Regions from separate parts of the Homo sapiens genome. Here regions 1, 3, 4, 5 and 6 are each linked to region 2. Evidence: promoter capture Hi-C in human tissues and cell types (Jung and others, 2019). All regions are on one chromosome and are shown on one strand. Each heading gives the region's core, a stretch centred on a gene start or on the middle of the fragment in contact. The rest is flanking DNA. Distances are from core to core; before and after follow the strand shown.

Region 1 (3,881 bases), core at 279-2,778, 300 kb before region 2:
AAGGGCTTTAAACCCCCTAAGGCAGGCCCCTGACAGCGCAAGACAACCTAACCCTGTCCCTTGGACTGCCCTGAGGTGGGCAGGTGGGCATGCAGGAGGCAATATGAGGGAAATGCTCCACGCGTGCTTGTTTCCTTCTATTTTTTGAAAACTAGAAACTGCCTCCGGAGCTCAAGTTCACCGAGTGTGTCTGCTAAAGCAGCAACAGGATTTTAGCACCTGACTGTGCCTGCCGCGGCACCAGGGCTAGGTGAGCACACTGCAGGGGTGAGGGTCTGTCTTTCTGAGATACTAACTGGATGCTGTCTTCAAGCTCCTTTCCCCAGAGTAAGGGGAGGGCTGTCTTGGGAATATGCAGACTGTCTTTCGCCTTCCCGGCCAGGGCGTTCTGTCTGCCAGATGAGCCCCCAGAAGCCCAGGGCGGATCTGGATCCCAGAAGGCTGGATGAGCCCATGCTGTCCTCTGCCCTTGGCCCTCTCTCTCTCCAGGAGGAAGCTGTGAACTGCGGGGAGGGGTGTGTGTGCCGAACCAAGTTAATCCAAGCCGTGTTCCGAGCTGGCCTGGTGCCTTCTGAGGCTGCAAGCTCAGCCCGTGTCTAATGACAAAGTCCAGCTCGTTCAACTGGGTGTCAGCAAGCCTAAAGGATTTTAAAAAATACTTGGAGGGGGATGTGCCTGGAGCCTGCCAGCACCCAGTGACATGGCGAGTGGGGGTAAAACCAGGCAGGCGGCAGCTAGGGGGAGACAGATGCTGTGCAGAAAGTGGGGCGGGCAGGAAGGGGTGAGGGGAGCGGAGAGGAAGAGCTTGAAAAGAGCAGCATTAACTGGGGGTGAGTGTTCTGGTGTGGATGGGGGTTGGGTTGAAGAATGGGGGTGGTGCAGATTCTGGGGTGACTGTGATTTCCTCATCTCTAAAGTGAAAAGCAAATTCAGTTCTCTCTTTTTTTTTTTTTTTGACCAATGCCACACATTTGGAAATGGGCTTCTTGATATTTGGGGACTGATAGGATACTTTAATCAGTTAAGATGGTTGGGAAAAAAAAACCTAAAAAACAGGCAGTTCAGCTAGAAGTACAAGTCGATGCACCGCCACATCATGGCTTCAGAAGGAAAGGTAATGGGGGTTTTTGGGAAGCTGGAGTTAGGGGAGACCCCTGCCTAGAGATGCTGACTTAGGGGGAAGCAAGAGGAACAGCATGTGACCAGGCTTCTTATATGGGCTGCCTGCATTTCCAGAGCAGGCTGGGGTGGGGGGTCATAGGCTCATTCTGAATGGTGTGAGGAGACCATGGCCCCGAGGGCCACATTCCCAAGAAGGAGACACTAGAACGCCAGAGAGCTTTACCTTCTTCTTAAATTAAGGGGAGGGGGTGGGACTTCCAACCTTCAGTTTTCCCAAAGAATACTTTTCTCCAAGAAAGATAGAATTCCTGTGCTCCAGGCATGCATTATAGCCTTATAAACTAGGAATGGGCCCCATTCCCCACCGATTCCTGAGGCCAGCAAACTCTCTCTAATGGGGGACAGGGCTAGAGGCGAGTGAAGCTCACGGTGTTTCCTAGCCATGGGGCATTTTTCTCTTCCAGAGGCACCTGAAGGAAGGGAATTTTAGAGTGTTCTCCTTGTGTAATGGGGATATATTTGATAAAAGGACAAGAAGCCCACCACATGTGGGGAGCTGTGAGCCCTTTCAGGTCTAGGAGGGAGATAATAGGCTGGGAGCAGGTTTGAAGTCTATTCCTGATGACTGGCTTCAGTCATGTATACCAGCAATTCCGAAGCTTAAAAGCAGGAATCAAACCTCAGTCCGAGTTCTCTAATCTCTTAGCTTCACTTTCCTCCTCTTGGGCATAGTAATTTCTATCTTGTAGCATCTTTGGGAAAGATAAATGAGATAACCCATGTAAAGGCCCTGGCCAAGGGCCTAGACCATTAGAAAAAAAATTAAAAAAACATAAAAAAAGACAGCTATCATTGTTGTTGATGATGCTGTGGCTGCTATTGTTCCCTTAAAAATATTTGAAGAATAAAAAATATTTTGTAAGGCGTTAGCCTAATTCGAGGAAAATGCAATATTGTTTTGCTTTTGGCAAGAGCTTCCTGCAGAGTTTCGCCATGAATTGTATGATTCTAACACTGTAGCAAGGGTGTTGCAAGATGCCTATGACCTTATAACCAAGTGGAAAGAGACAGGAGGTGCTTGCTGTTCTCTGTCATCTAAGTGGTGTTGGTGTGGTAGGGACATAACTGGAAGAAGGTTGTGGCACAAACTGAGGATCAAGAGTTCATAAAATTATACCGATTTGGCTCAATGAGTCACCGTGGAGAGACCAACAGTGCCATCAAACTGGTAATGACTTGTACTGAACTGGTTGGCTAGTGGCTTTCTTTCTGCCCTGTGTCTCTTAGGAAAGAGCCATTGTCAATATTTAAAAAAAAAATCTTCAGGGGCTCCTGGCCCTGCCTCATGTTAGGAACAATTGTGTACCAACATGCTTTACCATGCTGCAAAATTTAGGATCCTGTGGCTGAAATATTTTGTAAGAAATGATGCATCCTGAATTTATCATTGAATTTCAAGTCTTGAAATAAGTAAGTTCACATTTCCTTGTTTTGGCATAGAAGTGTTTAGCTGATTAAAGTTTTTGGCACTTGTTTTGCATTTCCTCTGAGAGGGCACTAATGTATGAGAGAAGGTAAACCGAACCTTCTAAGGGAAAGGAAAGTTAAGGAGGCAGGAAAAGCATCTATAGCTCTGTTTTCGGGATTTAAGAGTATAGGTTCTGGAGGCAGACTGCTCAGCAGACTGGAGCCAGGTCCCAAGTCTGGCTTTGCCTGTCACTAGCTGTGTGAGCTCTGCCTTAGTGAGTCTCAGTTTTCTCATCTGTCAAATGGAGGTGACGAGGGCTGTGGTGAGGATCAAGTGAAAAATTCACAAGGAGCCCTTAGCCCAGTGCCTGGCGCTTAGTAAATATTCAACAAATGTTATTAGCAATTTGCTGTCTGTAAGGACACCTCTACAGCTACTCAGAATATTCTGAGAGCTAGTGGGTTCTTGGCTAAGGGGAAGATGAAGAGTATTACTGAATCGACACATTTCATTCTTAGTAAAACGATTTCCCATTTCTGTTGCTTGTGATTTTGAGACTGATGAGGGAATTCTCTCTTTTCCTAAAAGCCAGCAGGAAAGGGGCCTTTTAGTAGAGTCAGTGTAGCTTTCTGAAGTAAATGGAAGCCTTCTCCATTTGACAGGCATTCAGCCTCTAGAAGCAACGCGGCTCTCCTCCCATACACATTGCCATCCTTGCTGGGTGGCCCCTTCACCCAGGCCCTCTGCGGGGCAGTACTCACTCGTGCAGCAGCAAGTCCTTGAAATGGATCATCTCCACTATCACCCGGGTGTTCTCCTGGGCAGCCGCGCACAGGTCGTGCTTGAGGTAGCATTCCCGCTGCAACTGGGACACCATTTCCCTGATGGCCGGGCACTTCCGGCTTATGCAGCCGAACCTGTGCCGCAGAGCGTGGGCCTTACATTTCAAGGCGTCTTTGATGAATGACTTGCCCTGAGAACACACAGGCCGGGGAAGGGAGAGAGGGGCAGAAAGCAGAAGACCTCGTTACATGCTTGGACATTTCAGCCCTTCTTGGGCTTACACAGGATATTTCTGACATCAGAACCCCAAGGCCCCACCAGAGACGGACGTCCTCCCAGGTGACAGGCAATGCGACATCCGGAGGCACGTCCAGAGTGACATGACACCCCCAGCACTGGGCAACAAGGGATGTTCATTCTGTAGACGAACACATCTCCCTCCTTCCTCCCTGGCTACTCTGTGAGTTTCCCTCCAACGGGGGCTTCCGTGGCTATGTGTCCCTCAGGT
Region 2 (3,839 bases), core at 328-2,827:
AAGGTGAAAGCTCTGTCAATACAGATCTGGGATGTATATGTATTAAATTACTTTGTTTCAAGGACAGACTTCTAGTTGGGCTTTTCATCTTGGAGAAGGAACAGTGTATACCACTTTCTCTCTCTACATCCGTATTTACCACCTGGTTTATTTACATGTCAGTTTTCTAACCTAGACTATAAGTTTTGAGGATGGGGTAGTGACTTATTCCTGTAATCGCACAGCTTGGCAACTAGAGGCCAATAAACGTTCAACGAATAAACAGACTACGTTTTTCCCTATCTTAAGGTCTAATTCTAAGCTCACAATCTTGCTGTGAGGTAAGCAAAATGTTTCCATGACAGGCTCTGGTAGGAGAAATCACTACCCTGCAGGAGTCCAGTGACAGGGTCTCCTAACCTACAACCACAGTCGTGGCTAGACAAGTTTTGAAAAGGAAGAAAATGAACATTCCAGCAACTACTGTATGTCTGATACTTAACACCCATTATTTCATTGAATCCAAACCACCCTGACGAGTAGGTAAAGTGAAATAGCGTTTTACTGGTGGGACTGACCAATGGCATTAGGATCTCAACTAGGCACCAAATCTCCTTTTATCAATGATGAAGTGCAAAATAAGGGTGCTGTTTCTACAATTTATCTTAATTCAACGCCGTACTAGTCTGCAAAACAATGAGCTAGAGAAAAGGAATAAACAGCTATAAAATGGTGATGACTGTGTGTTCAAATCATTGTGTTTAATGCCAGCTTCTCAGTGGTGAGTACGGAACAGGTGGAAATTCTAAAGCACGCTTGCTTATCTACTTGGTTTCGAAGTTTGTTATTAAGGGCCTCAGAGGAGTTCCATCTTGGGAATGATACGGTCTAGGCTCTAAAACCCACATTGAAACCCCAAGTTCGGAGAAGGGACTGGGTAAAATCACAACTAGTAGTAAATGTATCAGGCAGGAACCCACGTGTGCATCGCTCAGAAAGCTCTCCGTACTGCCCCAAGCGGTGTAAGACCTCACCGCTGAGATTTCTAAGCTATCTTTTGTTTTGCTCTCGGCTTTCGAAAATCAAAGCTGCCACCCGGCGGCCTCACGTGCAGCCCCGCTCCCCAACGCCCAGGCGGCCGCAGCTACCTTGGTGTCCACGTCGGCCAGGCAGTCCCGGCGGAAGCTGTCAAAAAGGCCCCGGCTCTTGAGCTGCTCCACGATGAGAGCGATGAGCTGCGGGTCGCCGGGAGGCAGCGAGGCCGGGTTGATGGGGCCACCGCCCCCGCTGGCCCCAGTAGCGCCAGTCGCTGCCCCGGCAGAGGCCTGGCTAGTTCCGCCGCCGCCCACCGCGCCAGTTCCCCCGCCGCCGCCGCCGTCCGCCATGGCTGCGCCCCGGGCCCACAAGGGAGAACGACTATAGCTTCTTCTCCAGGACAGAAGGCCTAGAACGTGTAGAGGTGGTGAAGGGGGCGGTGAAGGAGGAGGGCCCCAAGGCGGCAGCGGCGGAGGTGGCGATGGCGGCAGGGGCGGTGGTGGGGGCGGCGGCGGCGAAGGCCCCCTCTGATACAGCAGAGGTTGTGGTGGACGCGGCAGAAACGGCCTGCTCGATTCCAGGCGCACCCCAGATGGCGTCAACGTTGACCTTTGCATTGTGGGGCGGGAAGTTTTCTGTGGCCATCTCCGGCGTTCTTTATAGGCAGCGGCCTAGCCGAGAGAAACTACAACTCCCGGCAGGGTTCGTGCTTGCTCGTCGCGATTTCGCGGGGTAATATGGGAACTGTAGGCGCAGGCCTCGTGATCGCTGCAACCCGCCAGGCCTTCCCCGCCAGGCCTTCCCCGCCCACTCTCTGCTCACTTCCCATTCAATCAACACGTCCCAGCAGTGCCCGATTATAACAGTCATCTGTGGAGCTGATTAAAAGTATAGATTACCAGAATTATTTCTTAAAGATTTTTATCCAGTATTTACGGGTCGAGACCTAGCAATCTGTGCTTCAGCATGCACTCCCACGTCCTTCTTGAACAACATGTTCCGGGAAATTCCGGAAACAGTGGAACAGTCAAACTTCTATTGTTCAGAAATTTGTGAGTTTCCCTCCTTTTGGTTTTAATAGCAATGCATACTCATTTTAGAAAATTGGAAAATAACGGAAAAGTGTGAAGAAGAAAATAAAAGTTTTCCTTAAGTCTGTCTTATATGTGTGTGGATTTCCTCCCAAATATTAAATATTGTCAATCATAAGCCAATATTGAATAATTGAAAAGTGTCAGGCGTGATGCTATGCACTTTCCACGCACTTCTTCACGATAATTTAAAAAAGCAGATACATACTACTATTATTGCTATTTACAGACGTAGAAATGGAGGCAGAAGAAAGTTTGTTAACCTAATCACATACCTAGAGGTAGAAAAGTAGGATTTGAACCCAGGTTTTGAGGATCTAAATCTTGCATTTTAGCCTGAGGTATCCTGAGAGCTAGTTGGTATCCCACAATAGGTAAGGCTTTATATCCTGATTTTTTTAAGTAGCCACAATTCACCATTGGAATCCTATAGCTGCCACCATTATCCTCTCTTCCCTTCATCTTTTGCCTATTGTTAGCTCAGCTCCCCCTCCCAACCTCAGCAATTATGTCTGCTATTGTTGTTTCCTCATCTTACACAAGCAGCAGAGGGGATGTAAATAGCAAATTCTGCAATATCCTTGGCTCCTGCGAAGATGCAGAATTGGCAAAGATCCAGGATGTTCTCCACACCAATATTTAGTACTCAAGACAGTTTAATTTTTTTTTCTTTTTTTTTTTTGAGACAGAGTCTCACTCTATCGCCCAGGCTGGAGTGCAGTGGTGCAATCTTGGCTCACTGCAGCCTCCACCTCCTGGGTTCAAGCAATTCTCCTGCCTCAGCCTCCCGAGTAGCTGGGATTACAGGCGCATGCCACCATACCTGGCTAATTTTAGTATTTTTAGTAGAGATGGGGGTTTCACCATGTTGGCCAGGCTGGTCTTGAATTCCTGACCTCAAGTGATCTACCCGCCTCAGCCTCCCAAAGTGCTGGGATTACAGGTGTGAGCCACCACACCTGTCCAAGAGAGTTTAAATTAACCCTCAAAAGAAACATTCAGGTGTTGGATTATACTCATCCTCTAACACCAGCTCAATCATTCACAATGGGTCAGTTAATGACAAACATTCTCTCTTAATAGCTCACCATCCTTGAGATTACCTAATGTCTGTTCCTACTGGTTGACTCTACACTGATCACTCACCTTTAACCCCAGGAGAAGCCCAGTTCAGGCTGCCTCAGCCCCAGGTTCTTTCTTCTGCAAGCCCTTGATCACTCTGACTAGTCCCTTCTCCATTTTTGGCACCCCACATCTTACTCTCCTTCCTCAGGGAAAATTCTTCTGACCCCTAGATCCAATGAGATATTTCCTCCATGCTACAGAAACTCAAAGCCTCATTTTTTGTAGCAATTATTATAATTGGAAGTGAATGATTTACAGACAAATTGGCCACCTGAGTCCCCTGATAGGGTGTAATATTTAGAATGGGGACCACGACTTGTTCATCACTGTGTCTCCAGCTCTTAGCACGATAGTTCTTAGCTCAAAGAGAATGTATAAATTCCTGTCTGTTTCCTAAAGCTGTGGGATAGCATCACAGAGTGCGTGGGTAGGATTATGTGTAGCCATAATCTTCAGAAAAGAAGGAGCATTCTAGCAGGAGATGATGGATGAATCTGTCATGACTTAAATAGGTAAGTGATCCTGGAGATTGTCTGCACTTGGTTCACACTGTGACAATTTCACTATCTGTCATGGGGACCTGTGTCTTGGTTGCTGGGTCTCTGAACA
Region 3 (4,202 bases), core at 1,204-3,703, 490 kb before region 2:
AGTACTAAATCTGCATTATGAACTACAGTTTTTATCATCACGAAGTACACTTCTTGTCTGGTATTATCACGAATGCAGCTTTCTTATTATATTTGTTTGGTATTGTTTCTAATCTTATTATTTATATTTGTTTGGTATTCCTTTGTCTACTCTTTTATTTTCAATCCTTCTGAATCATTTTATTTTATTTTATTTTATTTATTTATTTTTGAGACGGAGTCTCGCTCTGTACCCCAGGCTGGAGTGCAGTGGCTCGATCTCGGCTCACCTTATGCTCCGCCTCCCGGGCTCACACCATTCTCCTGCCTCAGCCGCCGGAGTAGCTGGGACTACAGGTGCCCGCCACCATGCCCGGCGAATTTTTTGTATTTTTAGTGGAGATGGGGTTTCACCATGTTAGCCAGGATGGTCTCGATCTCCTGACCTCGTGATCCACCCGCCTCGGCCTCCCATAGTGCTGGGATTACAGGCGTGAGCCACCGTGCCCGGCCTCTGAATCATTTTATATTAGTTACATCTTTTTTTTTTTTTTTTTTTTTTTTTTTTGAGACGGAGTCTCGCTCTATTGCCCAGGCTGGAGTGCAGTGGCGCGATCTCGGCTCACTGCAAACTCCACCTCCCGGGTTCAAGCGATTCTCCTGCCTCAGCCTCCCGAGTAGCTGGGACTACAGGCACCTGCCACTGCGCCCGGCTAATTTTTTGTATTTTTAGTAGAGACGAGGTTTCACCGTGTCAGCCAGGATGGTCTTGATCTCCTGACCTCGTGATCCACCAGCCTCGGCCTCCCAAAGTGCTGGGATTACAGGCATGAGCCACCGCGCCCGGCCAGTTACATCTTTTTAAAACATTTTAGCCAGGTGCAGTGGCTTACAGCTATAATCTCAACATTTTGGGAGACCAAGGCAGGAGGATCACTTGAGCCCAAGAGTTCGAAGCCAGCTTGGGCAACATAAGGAGACCCCATTTCTAGAAAAAAAATACAAAAAGTTAGCCAGGCATGGTGATGCGAGCCTGTAATCCCAGCTTCTCAGGAGACTGAGGCGAGAGGATCGCTTTTGCCCAGGAGATGGAGGCTGCAGTGAGCCAAGATCGTGCCATTGTACTCCAGCCTGAGTGACAGACCTCATCTCAAAAAAAAAAAAAAAAAAAATACACACACACAAAACATTTTAGTTAAATTAAAATGTAACTTAATTTTAATTCAGATATCAGAAAATTTTTTCTTAGATTTTTTTGTTTGTTTGTTTTTTGTTTTTGAGACAGAGTCTCGCTCTGTCGCCCAGACTGGAGTGTAATGGAGTGATCTCAGTTCACTGCACCTCTGCCTCCCAGGTTCAAGCGATTCTCCTGCCTCAGCCTCCTGAGTAGCTGGGATTACAGGCACATGCCACCACGCCTGGCTAATTTTTGTATTTTAGTAGAGACGGGGTTTCACCATGTTGTTCAGGCTGGCCTCAAACTCCTGACCTTGTGATCCACCCACCTCGGCCTCCCAGAGTGCTGGGATTACAGGCGTGAGCCACCACGCTCGGCCTAGATTTTTTTATGTAGCATGTATTTGGATTTTTTTTGTTATTTATTCTGGAGGTTGTACTTTAATAGGTGAGTTTAGCTCATTTTTAAAAAAATTGATCTATGTTTGGTTTTAGTGCTGTCATCAAAAGATCTGCTAGAGTTTGTTTATGTGGCCTTTTTTTTGCCTTTACATGATCCATTATGGTTTCACTTTTGTTTGTATCCTCTGATAATTTTCAAAGCTTTGTGTTTTTACCTTGTGGATTGGCTTTTAACTGTAACATAAAATGTATACTTATTTTGTCTGTCAACTTTTCATTTAAGATTTTAATCCTATAGAAAAGGAGAAAGAATTGTACGATGAACATATATGTTTCGTTCAACTGGATTTACCAGTTGTTTTCACTGTTCTTTAAAATTCATTGCTTTTTTTTTTTTTAGAAACCAGTCTCGCTCTGTCACCCAGGCTGGAATGCAGTGGTGCTATCATAGCTCACTGCAGCCTCCAACTCCTGGACTCAAGTGATCTTTCAGCACCAACTCCCAAGTAGCTAGGACTACAGATGTGCGCCACCATGTCCAGCTAATTTATTTATTTTTATTTTTATTTTTATTTTTATTTTTGAAATGGAGTCTCACTCTGTCTCCCAGGCTGGAGTGCAGTGGCGTGATCTTGGCTCACTGCAACCTCTGCCTAGCAGATTTAAATGATTCTCCTGCCTCAGCTGACTCCCAAGTCACTGGTCGTACACCACCATGCCTGGCTAATGTTTTTGCATTTTTAGTAGAGACAGGGTTTCACCATGTTGGCCAGGCTGGTCTCAAACTCCTGACCCCAAGTGATCCGCCCACCTTGGCCACCCAAAGTGCTGGGATTACGGGCATGAGCCAGCTCACGTGGCCAGCAGCAAACTTATTTTTATGTTTGTAGAGACGGGTTCTTGCTGTGTTGCCCAGGCTAAGCTCAAGTGATCCTTCCGCCTCAGCTTCCCAAAGCACTGGGATTATAGGCATGAGCCACCCCACCCAGCCCTCACCAGTTGTTAATATTTTGCTACATTTGCTTTATTTCTACCTCTATCTACATGTGTATTTTGGACAGGGAATATTTGAAAATAACTCGTAAAAATCATGATTCTTTGTCTCTAACTATTTTAGCCTGTATTGCTTGAAAACAAGGACATTCTCTTAGCCACAACGCCAGTGTCACATCCTAGTGCTTCAACATTGATATAATATCTAATATGGAATCCATTTTCCCAGTTGTCTCAATAATGTCCATTATAGCATTTTTTTGTGTGTGTGATCCAGTCGAGGATCATGCATTGCATTTAGTCATATCTCTTCTTTTGTTTTCTTTAGTCTACATCAGTCTCCCCATCTTATTTTATTTTTATGAAAAATCCAGGTCTTGTAAAATGTCTCAACATTTGGATTTATCTGTTTCCTCATGACTAAATGCAGTTAGATTTTCTGGTAAGAATACATCATACAACCTTTTCATTCCATCAGTCAAGAGGCACATAATATCAGATTGTCTCATTATTTGTCATGCTAAGTTTGATCACATGGTTAAGCTTGTATATATGTATACACACACACACACACACACACACACACACACACACTTTTTTTTGTTTGTTTTTGGAGACGGAGTCTTGCTCTGTCACCCTGGCTGGAGTGCAGTAGTGCAATCTCAGCTCACTGCAACCTCTGCCTCCTAGGTTCAAGTGGTTCTCCTATCTCAGCCTCCTAAGTAGCTGGCATTACAGGTGCCTGCCACCATGCCCAGCTAATTTTTGTATTTTTAGTAAAGGCAGGGTTTCAACTTGTTGGCCAGGCTGGTCTCAAACTCCTGACCTGTGCTCTGCCCACTTCGGCCTCCTAAAGTGCTGAGATGACAGGCCTGAGCCACCATGCCCGGCCAGTATTTTTTATGATATCTTTTGACTTCTTCCTATGAGCAATGACAAATATATTTCTTTTTTTTTTTTTTTTTGAGATGGAGTTTCACTCTTGTTGCCCAGGCTGGAGTGCGGTGGCACAATCTTGACTCATTGCAGTCTCTGCCTCCTGGGTTCAAGCAATTTTCCTGCCTCAGCCTCCTGAGTAGCTGGGATTACAGGTACCCGCCACCATGCCCAGCTAATTTTTTGTATTTTTCGTAGAGACAGGATTTCACCATGTTGGCCAGGCTGGTCTCAAACTCCTGACCTCAGGTGATCTGCCTGCCTTGGCCTCCCAAAGCGTTGGTATTACAGGCGTGAGCCACTGCGCCCAGCCGACAAATTCTTTTTCCTTTCCCTCCCCTCCCCTCCCCTCCCCTCCCCTCCCCTCCCCTCCCCTCCCCCCCTCCCCTCCCCTCCCCTCCCCCTCCCCTCCCCCTCCCCTCCCTCTTTCCTCCCCCTCCCCTCCCTCTTTCCTCCCCCTCCCCTCCCTCTTTCCTCCCCCTCCCCCTCCCCCTCCCCCTCCCCCTCCCCCTCCCCTCCCGTTCCTTTCCTTTTTTTTTTTTTGAGGCAGAGTTTCACTCTTGTTGCCCAGGCTGGGGTGCAGTGGCATGATCTTGGCTGGCCCCAACCTCCACCCCCCGGGTTCAAGCAGTTCTCCTGCGTCAGCCTCCCGAGTAGCTGGGATTATAGACATGTGCCACCACACCTGGGTAATTTTGTGTTTTCAGTAGAGACAGG
Region 4 (4,428 bases), core at 426-2,925, 330 kb before region 2:
TATTGGAGTCCTCATTCCTGTTAAGGCAACCAGCCGGCTACAGCAGCTGCTTCCTTTAGTCTGAGTGTGCTGTGTCCAGGGCACCGCAGTCCCCACCACGCCCTCTTGTTTCCCACCCCTGATCTGCGTCACCATCAAGCGAAGTAAGAGCTGTAGAGATGATAGGTAGGAGCATGGATTGTGGAGCCAGAAGGCCTGGATTTGAATTTTACCAACTGGCTGTGTGACCTTGGACAAGTTAGTTCACTGCCTTGGTTTACAAACCTGTGAAATGGGGACATTCATTTAATTTCGACTAATTAAACCAGTTTTTAACATTGAAAAATCAGGAGATCTCATAGAATGCCTTGAAAAATCAGAAAACCTGGTAATACAGGTCTCAGGGCTGATAGCACATATCTCATAGGGTTGTTTTAAGAGTCTTAAATGAATTTTCCTCCCTCCCCCCTTCCCTCCCTTCCTCCTTCCCTCTCTCCCTCCCTCCCACCCTCCCTATCTTACTTTCTCCTTCCCTTCCTTCCTTCCTTCCTTCCTTCCTTCCTTCCTTCCTTCCTTCCTTCCTTCCTTCCTTCCTTCCTTTCATCCCTTCCTTCCTTGACAGGTCTTGCTCTGTCACCAACGCTGGGGTGCAGTGGTTGGATCACTGTAGCTTCAACTTCCCCAGGCTCACTGTAGCCTCAACTGCCCAGGCTCAAACAATCCTCCTGCCTCAGTCTCCCAACTAGCTGGGACCACAGATGTTCACCACCACTCCTGGCTAATCTTAAAATTATTTGTAGAGACAGGGTCTTGCCATATTTCCCAGGCTGGTCTTGAACTCCTGGGCTCAAGTGATCCTCCTGCTTCGGCCTCCCAAACTGCTGGGACTATAGGTGTGAGCCACCACACCCAGCCTTATTATCATTGTTTTCTAGTTGTGGGTGTTTTCATTTTTGGACTGTTGCTCTCCCTTTACAGTGACAGATTTCTTTTTCTTCTAGAACTACGAATCTTTGTTTCCCTGTGATCAGACAGATAGAGTTTGCAGGGAGGGTTAGGTATGAACCCGTTGGAGATGTTGGATGAAGCAAGGCAAGTGGAGACGATTCCTCTGAGAACCTGGGCTGCTTTCTACCATGGCCACACTTTTGGGGGCTGCCACCCCTGGCTGGGAACCTGCCCTGACCTAGGGAGCCACTGAGCAGGGTGTCACTCAGCGTCCCCAACACCCTGGCCTGTCAGGCTGAGTCCAGTTCCTCCTGCTCAGCACCAGACACCTCCAGACCCTGGAGTCGGGAGGCAACTTAAACAAAGGCGTTTATCTCACCCGGGCTCTCCTGCTGCTCTGCTGGACTGCTCAGCCAGGCTCTGGACAGCATAAAAAGTCAGGCTCGGATGACAGAGGCAGAATTTAGAGCCCTTTTGGATGGCAGCTGGGATCTGAGCTGTCAACCGGAGGCGAGTCAACACACTCAGGCTCGCTGCAGCTCTGCACAGAGAGGGCAGGGCAGTGATGCTGTGCAGAACTCCCGTCTAGTCCGGCTTTTTTCTATTTATAATTTCCCTTGATAATAGAGCCCATTCATTGCCTCCGCAGGCCCCTAATTGCTCTGGAGCAGAGGGATGACAGCCTAATTATTAACTTCACAAAAATTGAAGTTGGGCTGTGTCAACAAAGTCCACTCACTGTCACCCAGATGCGACTCTTTGCCCTTCATGGTGGCAAAGGGCAGTTAGGAAAAAAAAAGAAAGAAAGAAAGAAAAAGGCTGGCGTGGTTCCAGCTTAAGCAGGCTTTTATTTTCTGGCCTAAAATTATTTTGGGGGAGGCTCTACTTAGAGGAAAGAGAATGCCTGTTTCCTCTTTGTTGTAAGCTGTGGTCAGCTGGTCACCATGCCCCCGACTGGAGGTGACGTTTTTGATCTTTGGAAATATGACCTGAGAAAATGTTAAAAGGGACCTTAGCGACTGTGTGGCTGTGATTAAAAACGGGGCCCAATTCAGCCTGCAGATATGTTTTATTTGGCTAGCAGAATATTTAGCAAACTTTTTTGTTTTTTAAATTGAGGGAAAACTCACATTACATAAAATTAACCACTTTAAAGGGTACAATTCAGTGACATTTAACACATTTCACAATGTTTTATGACTATCACCACTACCTAGTCTCAAAACATTTTTATCACCCCAGAAAAAACCTCTGTCCCCCTTAAGCACTTACTCCCCGTGTCCTTTCCTCCCAGACCCTGGCCACTGCCAATCTGCTTTTTGCCCTTTCTGGATAGTCCATCTAAATGGAATCATGCAAACTGTGGCCTTTTGTGATTGGCTTCTTTCACTTCCCATAAGGTTTGCAAGATTCTCCTGTATCATAGCATCCTTTCTCAAAGGCTGAAAAATGATAAAAAGCTTTTGAATTCATTTCTGTCAGCCTTATTGAAATATAATTTGCCGCCCACACAATTCACCTATTGAAATGTACAAGTCAAGGGTGCAATTCAGAGTTGTGCAACCATCACAATTAGTTTTTAACACTGAAAAATCAGGAGATTTCATAGAATGCCTTGAAAAATCAGAGGACCTCGTAGCACACAGCTGGCATCACAATGCTAAATGGGACTTGCACTCACAGGTCTCCTAGGGCCCCGCCACTTCCTGCTGTGCTGACCTGGCCACTGCGCTCATTTCCTAACTGCATAGCCCTGGAGGGATGTGAGCCCGGATTCTAGTCCAACCCCTGATTGGACAGATGGAGAAACTGAGACCTGGGTAGGCCACGCTGCTTATTCAAGGTCACACAGTGATATAGCTGTGAGTGGAATCCGCGTTTTGGACTCCCACTGCCCTGTGGCTCTTTCCACAGGTATTTAAGCTAATCATCAGCATTTTAATCTTAAGGGCAGTGTAACCCTGCGTTTATGACAGGCTTTGTGCTGAATTTGATTAATGTGCACTTTGAGGACATCTCCAGTTTCCTTTGGGAAAACACCCCAAGTAATCATGTGGTTTGGGCAGGGCAGGTCCTGACCCCCTTTCCTGCAGGAGTGCTAGTGACTTCCCAGGCCTGATGGTCAGGCTGCATTGCCTTAGTGTTTGGATTAGCATTGAGGAATTTTGTTGGAATTATTGGGAAAGAGAAGCTCTCTTCCTACTAAGGCCCTGAGAAGCTGAGATGTCAGCTGCAGCCTGGTGGGGGGCCATCTTGCCATTGTGTTGAAAGAGACTGCCTGAGATTTGAGTCAGTACAGAGGAAAGAAGAACCAAGAGACAGACAAAGCAGATTTCTCCCTTTCTCATACTAACCAGGCCTGACCCTGTTTAGCTCCTGAGATCAGGCAAGACCAGGCATGTCCAGGGCGGTGTGGCTGTAGACAGAGAAAGCAGATTTCTAATGGCACCATTTGAGCACACTGATGTAGCTGTGCCTGAAACCCTAATCTTTTTAGTTTTCAGTTTAATAACTCAATATATTCTATCTTTCCTTTTTTTTTTTTTTAACTGGATTGAGTTGGATTTCTGTCACTTGCATTAAACTGATCAATCCAAAGTATATAAAACACTAAATTCGGCCAGGCGCGGTGGCTCATGCCTGTGATCCCAGCACTTTGTGAGGCCAAGGCGGGCGAATCACCTGAGGTCAGGAGTTCGAGACCAGCCTGGCCAGCATAGTGAAACCCTGTCTCTACTAAAAATACAAAAATTAGCCAGGCGTGGTGGCAGGCGCCTGTAATCCCAGCTACTCGGGAGGCTGAGGCAGGAGAATCGCTTGAACCTGGGAGGCGGAGGTTGCAGTGAGCTGAGATCGAGCCATTGCACTCTAGCCTGGGTGAGAGTGAGACTCCATCTCAAAAAAACAAAACAAAACAATGCACTAAATTCACTCAAAGAATATTTATTGAATACTCACACTATACCAATGTTTTAAAATACATTATCTCATTTTACTCTTATAGTAAGACAGTGATGTGGGCAGCTATAATTATTTCTAGTTTACAGGGGACTCGATGGGAGGTTAGAGAGATCACTCACCCAAGGATACTCAGATTGTGAGTGGATGGCCTGGGGTTTCCACTTCAAGGCTGGCTCCTGTGCCCCAGCTCCCTGGGACATCACAGGAAATGCTTTTCAGTTTCCCAAGGACCGTAAACATATCTTTCCTCCCCATCCTCAAAGTATTCCAGACTTTGGAAGTGTGGAAAAGTTGGAATATATGGGTGTTGGAATACATTTAAAAAATCCCACCATTCACAAATAACCCACACCAATTTTAACTTAATTCTAGATTTTCAGTGCAGTTTTTTAATACATGAAAGGTTATATAAAAGGAATCAAATATCAGTATGTACAATGTCATATTCTGCATTCTCATTTAAAATGATGTCAAAAGAATGAGGAATAGTCTCTTTTAAACAATTAATTAATTAATCAATTTTTGTAAAGACAGGGGTTT
Region 5 (4,348 bases), core at 1,479-3,978, 450 kb before region 2:
AATGAAGAATTTAAGTCCATGTCGGGCACCATCCAGCTGGGCCGGAAGCTTATCACAAAATACAATCGCCGGGAGCTGACGGACAAGCTTCTCATCTTCCTTGCGCTAGCCCTGTTTCTTGCTACGGTCCTCTATATTGTGAAAAAGCGGCTCTTTCCATTTTTGTGAGATCCCAAAGGTGCCAGTTCTGGCCCTTTCAGCTCCTGTTTCAGGATCTGTCCTGGTTCCTGAGCTCTAGGCTGCTAAGCTGAGCCACACACCCCTCCGTTTGCACCAGTTGCCTGCAGGTTGGATGGAACACAGTGCCCCACTTTTCTGCAAGTAGCTGGCTTGTAAAGGGTGAACAGAGCCATGGGAGGAAGGTCTGGCATTGGGATGCCGCCCTGGGGACATACGAACCGCCTCCTTCCACCATTGTGCACTATGGGAGGCCGCTGCTGCGTGGAGCACTTAAAGTCCAGCCTCCAGGACCGGATGCCCCTCCTGTCTCCCGCTCCCATCGTGCCCTTAAATGCCAGATCTGGTGGAGGGAAGAGAGAAGAGGTAGGAAGAAAGGTGATGAAAACTCCTGGTCATTCCTTGAATAAACTTGATTTTATTTAATAGAATAAAATGTATTTGATTTTGTAAGATAGCCCTCTGGGAATGTGTGTTCCTCTTTTCTTTTTTCTTTTTTTTTGAGATGGAGACTTGCTCTATCATCCAGGCAGGAGTGCAATGGCGCAATCTTGGCTCACTGCAGCCTCTGCCTCCTGGGTTCAAAAGATTCTCTTGCCTCAGCCTCCCAAGTAGCTAGGATTACAGGCACACACCACCATACCCAGCTAATTTTTGTATTTTTTTAGTAGAGATGGGGTTTCTCCATGTTGGCCAGGCTGCTGTCGAACACCTGACCTCAGGTGATCCACCCATCTTGGCCTCCCAAAGTGCTGGGATTACAGGTGTGAGCCACCATGCCCAGCCCTCTTTTCTTGATGTCCAGATTTTTAGGACATGAACCTAGATTATTTATTTATTCATTCATTCAACAACGAATTAGCATTGTTATTTTCTTTCTGTCCCCACCCAACAACAAGGAACTATTAAACAGCTGCCACACACAGGGTGTTATAGACGCTGCTGAACATGACAAATACATTGGTGAACCAGACATGGTTCCTCCCTCAAGGAGGAACAGAAGGAGACACGGAAATAAAATCTCACAGACTATCAGGAAGGAGGGTCCAACAGCCCCTGTTCAACCAGGTGTGGTGGCTGATACCTCTAATCCCAGCATTTTGGGAGGCTGAGGCAGGATGATCACTTGAGCCCAGGAGTTCAAGACCAGCTAGACAACATAGCAAGACCCTGTCTGTATTTAAAAAAAAAAAACAAAAAAACAGAAACAGAACAGAAAACAGCCCTTGTTGGAAGTGGCTCACACCAACATCTGAAAAGGCTGCAATGCCATTCTCTACCACAGCAGCCTGGCCAGGCCTGGGGGTGTGCAGTGATTCGGGCTGGCACATGCCTTTCTCTCTGATGTCCAGAGCTAAGTATAACCAAGGAGGGAGAAGCTAGTGAGAAGCTGAGACTGTGTGAGCCTGAGTTCTGTCCAGGCCAGAGGGAGAGGGCCCAGGCTAGGCCAGTCCTAGAGGTGCTGTGTCTTTTGTGCTGCAGGCCTGGCTGACCTCAAGCTTGAAATCCCAGCCTCCCCCACTATTTATAGCCCCAGAGGACCTGGGAAGGGCAGTGTGGAGGCTGAAGGGAAAGTGGGAAGAACATGGACTTTGATCCTTGGCTCAAACACTTGGTTTTGAGATTTGGCTCCACTGCTAATGGACCACAGGACCATTGGCAAGTTACTTTATGTTGCTAAGCCTCAGTTTTCCTATCTGTAAAATGGAGGTGATAATCCATATGGGTCCTCATAGAGTCAACTTGAGAATCCAATGAGAATATAAAGCAGCAAGTGTAGCTAGCTGTCTTCAGACCAGGCCTGCCATGGCCTTTCCAAATGCTGCCACCCCCTGGGCCCTGGGCACTGAGGTTTCCTGCAGCTGACAGCAGCGGTGCTTCAGGAAAAGCTGGGCCAGGCACCAGCATTCTGTTAGAGGTGTTTGAGCAGAGGATGTCAAGAGTTAAGGCCTCAGTTATAAAGTGGCAGATCATCATGGGACCAAGTTATAAAAAACTAGCTGCACATCTCAGACCAGCTTAATGAGTGGATTCCAAGTTAAAGTGTGGATCTAAGTATAGATCCACACTGTGTACACACACACACACACACACACACACACACACATAATTTTGTAGGCTGTATATCATCCTTAAACAATTCCTGGCCCCAAAAGACACTCGGTGCAGATTGTGCACACATGTGTCTTATTTATAGTCAAATTAAAGCTGAGAATAAAGCACAGATGGGAAATTCCCACTCAGATTCCAGCTGTAAGTGCAGCAGATGGATGTTATCAAGTTCAGATTTTCTTGTCTTAACATTTTTCTTTACTGCTTCCCACTAATTGTCAACATCCTCCTCACAATATGGAATTGCGTGGGCTCTGTATGCCCTAAAATTGCTCCCTTTGACACTTTATTCCTCTTTTACTTGCCTCCTCCTGAAAATAGAGTTGAATGTGACCCATTTTGAAATGTCATTGATAACAACATCTTGCAACCTCCACCAGCCACCAGGGTTAATCCTTCCCCAAAGCAGAATGCGGCCCTCTCCATGCTCAACCATGAGAGGGCAGTGTCCACATTTGCTCTGCCTTCTTGCAGTGGGTGTGGTAATCTTCATCGGTCCATTTGAAATGCTCTTATGGATATATATATATATATATATATATATATATATATATATATATACACACACACACACACACACTGCATATATATATATATGTACTGCGTGTGTATATGCAGTATATATTTATATGTAGGTATCAGATTTTTTTTTTTTTGAGACGGAGTCTCGGTCTGTCACTCAGGCTGGAGTGCAGTGGCGCAATCTTGGCTCGCTGCAACCTCCGCCTCCCAGGTTCAAGCAATTCTCTGCCTCAGCCTCCTGAGTAGCTGGGATTACAGGCACCTGCCACCACGCCCGGCTAATTTTTTTTTTGTATTTTTAGTAGAGACTGGGTTTCACCATCTTGGCCAGGCTGGTCTTGAACTCCTGACCTCGTGACCCGCCTGCCTTGGCCTCCCAAAGTGCTGGGATTACAGGCGTGAGCCACCGCGCCTGGCCAGATTTTTTAAAACATAAATGTATGAAGCTTACCTATATTTTGTTTTTGGATATGTTTCCTAAGTGGCCATAATTTTCACTGTTAAATAGTAATGCAAGCTCAGATGCTACCTTTTTTTTTTTTTTTTTTAGACAGGGTCTTGCTCTTTTGCCCAGGCTGGAGTGCAGTGGTGCGACAATGGCTCACTGCAACCTCTGCCTCCTAGGCTCAAGCGATCCTCCCACCTCAGCCTCCTGAGTAGCTGGGACTACAGGTGTGCACCACCACGCCTGGCTAAATTTTGTTTATTTTTTGTAGAGATGAAGTCTCACTTTGTTGCCCAGGCTGGTCTCAAACTCCTGGGCTCAAGCAATCCTTCCACCTCAGCCTCCCAAAGTGCTGGGATTACAGGAATGAGCCGTTGTGCCCGGCTCATCTGTTACATTTTGATTAGCTGACAGTCAAGGAGTTAAAGGTATAGAGCAGTCATCAAGAGATCTTTCATTCAAGAAGTATTTACTGAGCACCTACTATGTACCAGGTACTTGTGTTAGAGCTACACAGTGAACAAAACAAAGATTCTCTGTTGTCATGGACCTTCTGGTGTGTAGGGGATGTTGGGCAGATGATAAACAGTTAATACATGAAATGAGTGGTTTGGGAAGAGTGGAGCTTATTGATGGCGATCTGGATGGAGAGGTGGGAGCAGGTTTGCAGTGTTAAGCAGAGTGGTCAAGGTTGGTCTCACTGGGGTAGGATTTGAGCAAAGACTTGAGGCAGGGGAGGTGCGTCCTGGGGACAGTCGAGAGAGGGTTCTGCACAGAGGGAGCAGCTGGAGCAAAGGCCGGGCAGGGGCACACTGGCACATCTGAGGAGGGCAAGCAAGGCTGCGTGGCAAGAGGTGAGTGTAGGGGCTCAGTGACCTCAGGCTGCCAACCTGGAGCCCATCTCCCGCCCATACCCACCCTTTTCTTACCTCTCACAATCTTTGGCCCTGTTGGGCACTGGTTCTTCCAGAAAGCTCCCCGGCTATGTGGTGCCACGCTCTCTTGGCTTCCGTCTTACCTCTCTGGCAACTCCTCTCCTATTCAGGCTTAAATGCTTCAGATCTTGTTCCCTTTGTATCAAAGGAAAGGTCA
Region 6 (4,341 bases), core at 819-3,318, 350 kb before region 2:
TCTCCTCTAGCCATTTCTTTCAGAGCTCTTCTTCCTGCCCTAGCATCACAAATTAAGAAGACTAGCTGCTTCTTTGTTCCACTTTTATATTTATCATTTGATCTTCCTGTGAAATAGCTGAACAGACATTTAAACATCTATCCTCTCGGCAGAGAAAAATGAGGAGCAAGACCTTAAATAATTGCCACATAGCTACTCAGAAAAGCCAGCCTTTCTGATTCCTAGCCCAGTGCAACTCGGATCCTGAAGTCAGGCTGCCTGGGTATGAACCTTACTCTGCTACTTATGACAGACATGATCTTGGGCAAGTCACTTCACTTATATGATCCTCTGTTTCCTCTTCTATCAAATAAGGAAAGTAATATCACTCACTTCATGGGATTTATTATGAGGTTTTAATGAGATGGACAACAGATCAGCAAATTTTTTTCTGGTGAGGGGTACACAGTAAATATTTCAGGCTTGGCAGATCCTATGGTTTCTGTCACGATTACTCAACTCTGCTGTTGTAGGTGAAAGTAGTCATAGACAGTATGTATTCAAATGGATATGGCTGTGTTCTAATAAGACTTGATTTACAAAATCAGGTGGTGGGCTAGATTTGGGCCATGGAGTGTAATTTGTTGCCTCAGTGAGAGAGTATGGAAAGATCTTGGCCATTGCCCACTGCCAGAGAAGCATTTGATAAGTGATAGCTACTGATGATATCATACTGTTATTATTACTTTATTATCTTAGCAGTCTTGTTCTTCTGCTTTCCTTTTTTTGGAGACAGGGTCTGTGTCACCCAGGCTGGAGTGTATTGGTGCAATCATGGCTCACTGCAGCCTGGACCTCCTGGGTTCAAGTGATCCTCCTACCTCAGTCTCCCAAGTAGGTGGGACTAAGTGCCACCATGCCCAGCTAATTTCCATTTCTGTACTTCCTCTCTCAGCATTGCTATTTTGTTCCATCTACTGGAGTGTGAGAAAAAATTCAGTTCCACTCTGGCCACCTGTGGTAGCCAGCTTCCAAGACGGACCTTGGTGATTCTCAATTCCTGATATTCTGGAAGGATAGGAGGCCACATGGAGAACTGAAGCTCCTACTCCCCTCCAACAGTGAGTAGGACTGACCTGGTAACCAATAGTGTATTGTAGAAATGACTGTGTATGAACTCTGACTAGTGTTGGCCTCAAACTCCTGGGCTCAAGCAATCCTCTTGCCTCCCAAAGTGCTGGGATTATGGGTATGAGCCACCATGCCCAGCCTCTTTATTATTAGTTGATTTTTCTATATTTAATTTTTCTTTCTTTAAAAAATACTGCTTTGTATTCTTTGTGTCTTATTTATTTGCTTATTATTTTTTACTGTGTTTTGGACATTGCATTTGAAAAATTGCTTGCAGAACTAATTATAGGCTTCAGATGATGATATTTTCCTCCTAAGAAGATTTATGTTTGTCTCTGCTAGGCTCCTGGGGCACCGACAATTTAGGTTTACTGAAATCTAATTTCGGGGGTTTAGAATACCTGAAGTGGAGCCATGGTCTCTGCAAGGGCCTGTCTGCTTCTGGGTCACATTTACTTGTAGGGAGCTTCCCTTTAGAATCCCAGTTCAAGATGAATCTCAACTCTAATCTTGGTAAGCTTCACATTCGTCCCTGCCCCTTTAGCCCCGTGAGGCTCTTGAAAGTCCACCCAGCCTCTCTGCCAGCCATGGTAGAATTGGCCCACGCTGCCAGGCCCAGGGTAGCTCAAAGGACAGACTCACTTCGCACGGCTTCCTCCTTCCTTTGGGTCCTGGCTGGTTATTCTTCACTATTTTGTAGCTCTCTGGTGTCTTTAAGCAGTTCGGTTTTTTTTTTTATTTTGAATAATTATCAAATTTATTAAAAGCGTACAACAGATGCTTATAAACAGCAGCAAAATAAGCTGATAATCTTTTTCATTTCATCTGACCAATAAAATTCTCACAGTCTATACAGATTTTTCTTTCAGTTTATTTTACTTTTGTATGCTTTAGTGACAAATCCTTACACCTGAGACAAAGTGATCATCATTTAAGAATCACCATCATCATAAATTATTTTACATTTATTTTATTCTTTTACAGACAGGGTCTTGCTCTGTTGCCCTGCCTGGAGTGCACTGACTATTCAAAGGTGCCCTTCTAGTGCACTGCAGCCTTGAACTCCTAGGCTTAAGTGATCCTCGTGCCTCAGCCTCCCATGTAGCTGGGACTACAGGTGTGTGCCACCACTCCTGGCTTATTATTTTACATTTATTGAGATGAAGGGCAGGTTAATTTCATTATTTACTTTGAATCGATTAATAACCCTCAATTCTAAATGTGCTGGGCAAAGTAACAGAGAGGGCTTGACAATATCCCTCTTCATTATGTATTCCAAGACATTTCGTGATTTTTTTCCCATTTGTCTGATTTAGGATTTACTTATTCTGCAGCATTCCCAGTTGTCCTCAGTGGAATGGAGGGCAGTCTGAATTACGTACTTTGCTATTACTGATAATGGGAGTTCACCCTTCCAGATTTTATTAGTTCTAGTCTCAGCATGGTAACTAATTACTTCTACGACCTTGGGTTGAGGTTGGGCACGGTGGCTCACCCCTGTAATCCCAGCACTTTGGGAGGCCGAGGTGGGCGGGTCACTTGAGGTCAGGAGTTCGAGACCAGCCTGGCCAACATGGTAAAACCCTGTCTCTACTAAAAATACAAAAATTAGCCAGGTGTGGTGGCAGGCGCCTGTAATCCCAGCTACACGGGAGGCTGAGGCAGGGAGAACTGCTTGAACCCAGGAAACGGAGGTTGCAGTGAGCCAAGATGGCACCACTGCACTGCAGCCTGGGCGATAGAGCGAGATTCTGTCTCAAAAAAAAAAAAAAAAAAAAACTTTGGGTCACATGTGCTTTTCTTTCTTCATTTGTCAAATTAGATTGTTAACACTGGGCTTACCTGCCTCCTGGATTATTGCAGGAGCAAATGGGATAAGCTACATGGAAACCTGGAACCCAGTGTAAATGTGAGGTGCTAAAGCCCAGGTCCTACACCCTAGATTTCCCAAGGCATCTGAGCCCTGTGGGAAGGAGGGCCCTTGTTGACTCCCAGCCCCAGGGTGCAGGTGCCCAGAGCAATTTGCATCAGGTGGTCTCTTTTGTTGCTTTCTAAACATCAGGCAGGTTAATGGTACACCATTCTGCAAGTCAAATCTTGAATCTGGATGATCAGGTGAGTTTTTATCGTACTTTTTCTCATTTCTTTTCCCCCATAATTGCATTTCAGGAAGCGTCCCCGGGTTAGTTCTTTTTCTTTAGTTTTTGTGTCTAATAACTTTCCGTGAGCAGACCCCACAGTGTGCAGCAGTGAGGATCCCTGGACTTGGTTAAAAGAAAACCTCCAAACCTTGACCTCCCTGGGCAGCTCAGCCTGCCACCTGGCAGGGGCCCCTCTGGGGCTCACACTTGTTTTGGCCTTTGTGAACTGCGCAGAACCAGGGCTGACCCTGCCGAACTGTGGATGTGTGGCCAAGACAGGTCCCAGTGTCCTGCCCGGGCTGTGCATGTGAGGGAGGCGGTGATGCAACGTGATGGCATTTGTGACAGGGTGAGGGAAAGAGATTGCTGGCTGGGGCTTCAAGGGGTGTGATTAGATTACGGCGGAGTTGCCTGTTTGGCGGAGATGGAAGACTTGGTTCTGTTCATTTCATAGGCAGCGGATTCCCGCAGTTTCAGACTGGCCAGAGAAATCCATTTCTGGAGTAGTAGGCAGAAATGTGGAGCTGAGAGGCTCATTCCACAATGCTTCCCTGAGCTTTTGCTTTTTACTTCTTCACTTTTTTTCCTTCTCTGGCTTTCTTTTTCTAAGCTCGCACGCTTCCACAATGCTAAAACATCTGCTAATAAAGGTTTTATTAGCAGCTTTTATTCCAACCACCTGGAATCCAAAACCCAAAGGTTTTATTCCAACCACCTGGAATCTTGTCAATCTCAGCTTATATTCCTTCTCGTCTTCCTACCCACTCATTGCTTTTGTTGTGTATTTAAGTCCTTTCAGGGGCAGGGAGCAAAGGGCTTGGGGGCAAAGACATTGGGCTTTGGTGTCAGACTCACCAGATTTGAACTTTGCTCGACCACTTTTACCTGGGTGACTTTGGGCAAGTTAATCAACTTCCATGAGACTTAGTTTTCTCATCCACAAAAAGGAGAGCATCTTATCCTCTAAGCTGTTTTGAGGGCTGCATTAAAGAAAATACATAATGTTTGAAAAATAATTTTTGGCACTTAGCATACATTCGATGAATGGTGATTTCCTTCTCTTTTTATTCTCTTATATGTATTTTTTGGT

What was found. Contacts are between HindIII fragments. The study calls those that stand out against the background at their distance.
Region 1: a contact is called between a fragment that was not itself captured here and the fragment with the promoter of BOD1 in region 2, in 4 of the 25 tissues and cell types used here (IMR-90 fibroblasts, aorta, hippocampus and 1 more).
Region 3: a contact is called between a fragment that was not itself captured here and the fragment with the promoter of BOD1 in region 2, in 1 of the 25 tissues and cell types used here (ovary).
Region 4: a fragment that was not itself captured here is called in contact with the fragment with the promoter of BOD1 in region 2 in 2 of the 25 tissues and cell types used here (IMR-90 fibroblasts and dorsolateral prefrontal cortex).
Region 5: a contact is called between a fragment that was not itself captured here and the fragment with the promoter of BOD1 in region 2, in 1 of the 25 tissues and cell types used here (IMR-90 fibroblasts).
Region 6: a fragment that was not itself captured here is called in contact with the fragment with the promoter of BOD1 in region 2 in 2 of the 25 tissues and cell types used here (IMR-90 fibroblasts and liver).

Annotation. Positions count from the first base shown.
Region 1 is chr5:173,319,868-173,323,748 of GRCh38, forward strand. STC2 (stanniocalcin 2) reads right to left here. Exons shown (of 4, transcript NM_003714.3): 3 at 3,352-3,563. Among named protein-coding and RNA genes, the nearest start is that of STC2, 6.6 kb to the right of the region's middle. RefSeq lists an enhancer at 3,876-3,881. The HindIII fragment of the contact is 5,604 bases long and covers 1-3,881 here.
Region 2 is chr5:173,615,073-173,618,911 of GRCh38, forward strand. It overlaps BOD1 (biorientation of chromosomes in cell division 1), which reads right to left and starts at 1,578. Exons shown (of 4, transcript NM_138369.3): 1 at 1,128-1,578. The coding sequence starts at 1,364. RefSeq lists silencers at 1,385-1,434, 1,445-1,514 and enhancers at 1,495-1,754, 1,775-1,854. The HindIII fragment of the contact is 11,068 bases long and covers 1-3,839 here.
Region 3 is chr5:173,128,589-173,132,790 of GRCh38, forward strand. The region is part of intron 8 of CREBRF (CREB3 regulatory factor); the gene reads left to right. Among named protein-coding and RNA genes, the nearest start is that of BNIP1, 14 kb to the right of the region's middle. RefSeq lists an enhancer at 193-693. The HindIII fragment of the contact is 4,974 bases long and covers 1-4,202 here.
Region 4 is chr5:173,289,273-173,293,700 of GRCh38, forward strand. The region is part of intron 3 of LOC105377731 (a long non-coding RNA gene); the gene reads left to right. It overlaps LOC124901136 (a long non-coding RNA gene), which reads right to left. Exons shown (of 2, transcript XR_007059055.1): 2 at 3,855-4,428. It also overlaps the pseudogene RNA5SP200. Among named protein-coding and RNA genes, the nearest start is that of MIR12118, 12 kb to the right of the region's middle. RefSeq lists an enhancer at 3,197-3,446. The HindIII fragment of the contact is 4,421 bases long and covers 1-3,886 here.
Region 5 is chr5:173,163,754-173,168,101 of GRCh38, forward strand. BNIP1 (BCL2 interacting protein 1) reads left to right here. Exons shown (of 6, transcript NM_001205.3): 6 at 1-634. The coding sequence ends at 168. Among named protein-coding and RNA genes, the nearest start is that of BNIP1, 21 kb to the left of the region's middle. The HindIII fragment of the contact is 6,261 bases long and covers 1-4,348 here.
Region 6 is chr5:173,262,066-173,266,406 of GRCh38, forward strand. No RefSeq gene overlaps it. Among named protein-coding and RNA genes, the nearest start is that of NKX2-5, 29 kb to the left of the region's middle. RefSeq lists an enhancer at 3,133-4,341. The HindIII fragment of the contact is 6,740 bases long and covers 1-4,341 here.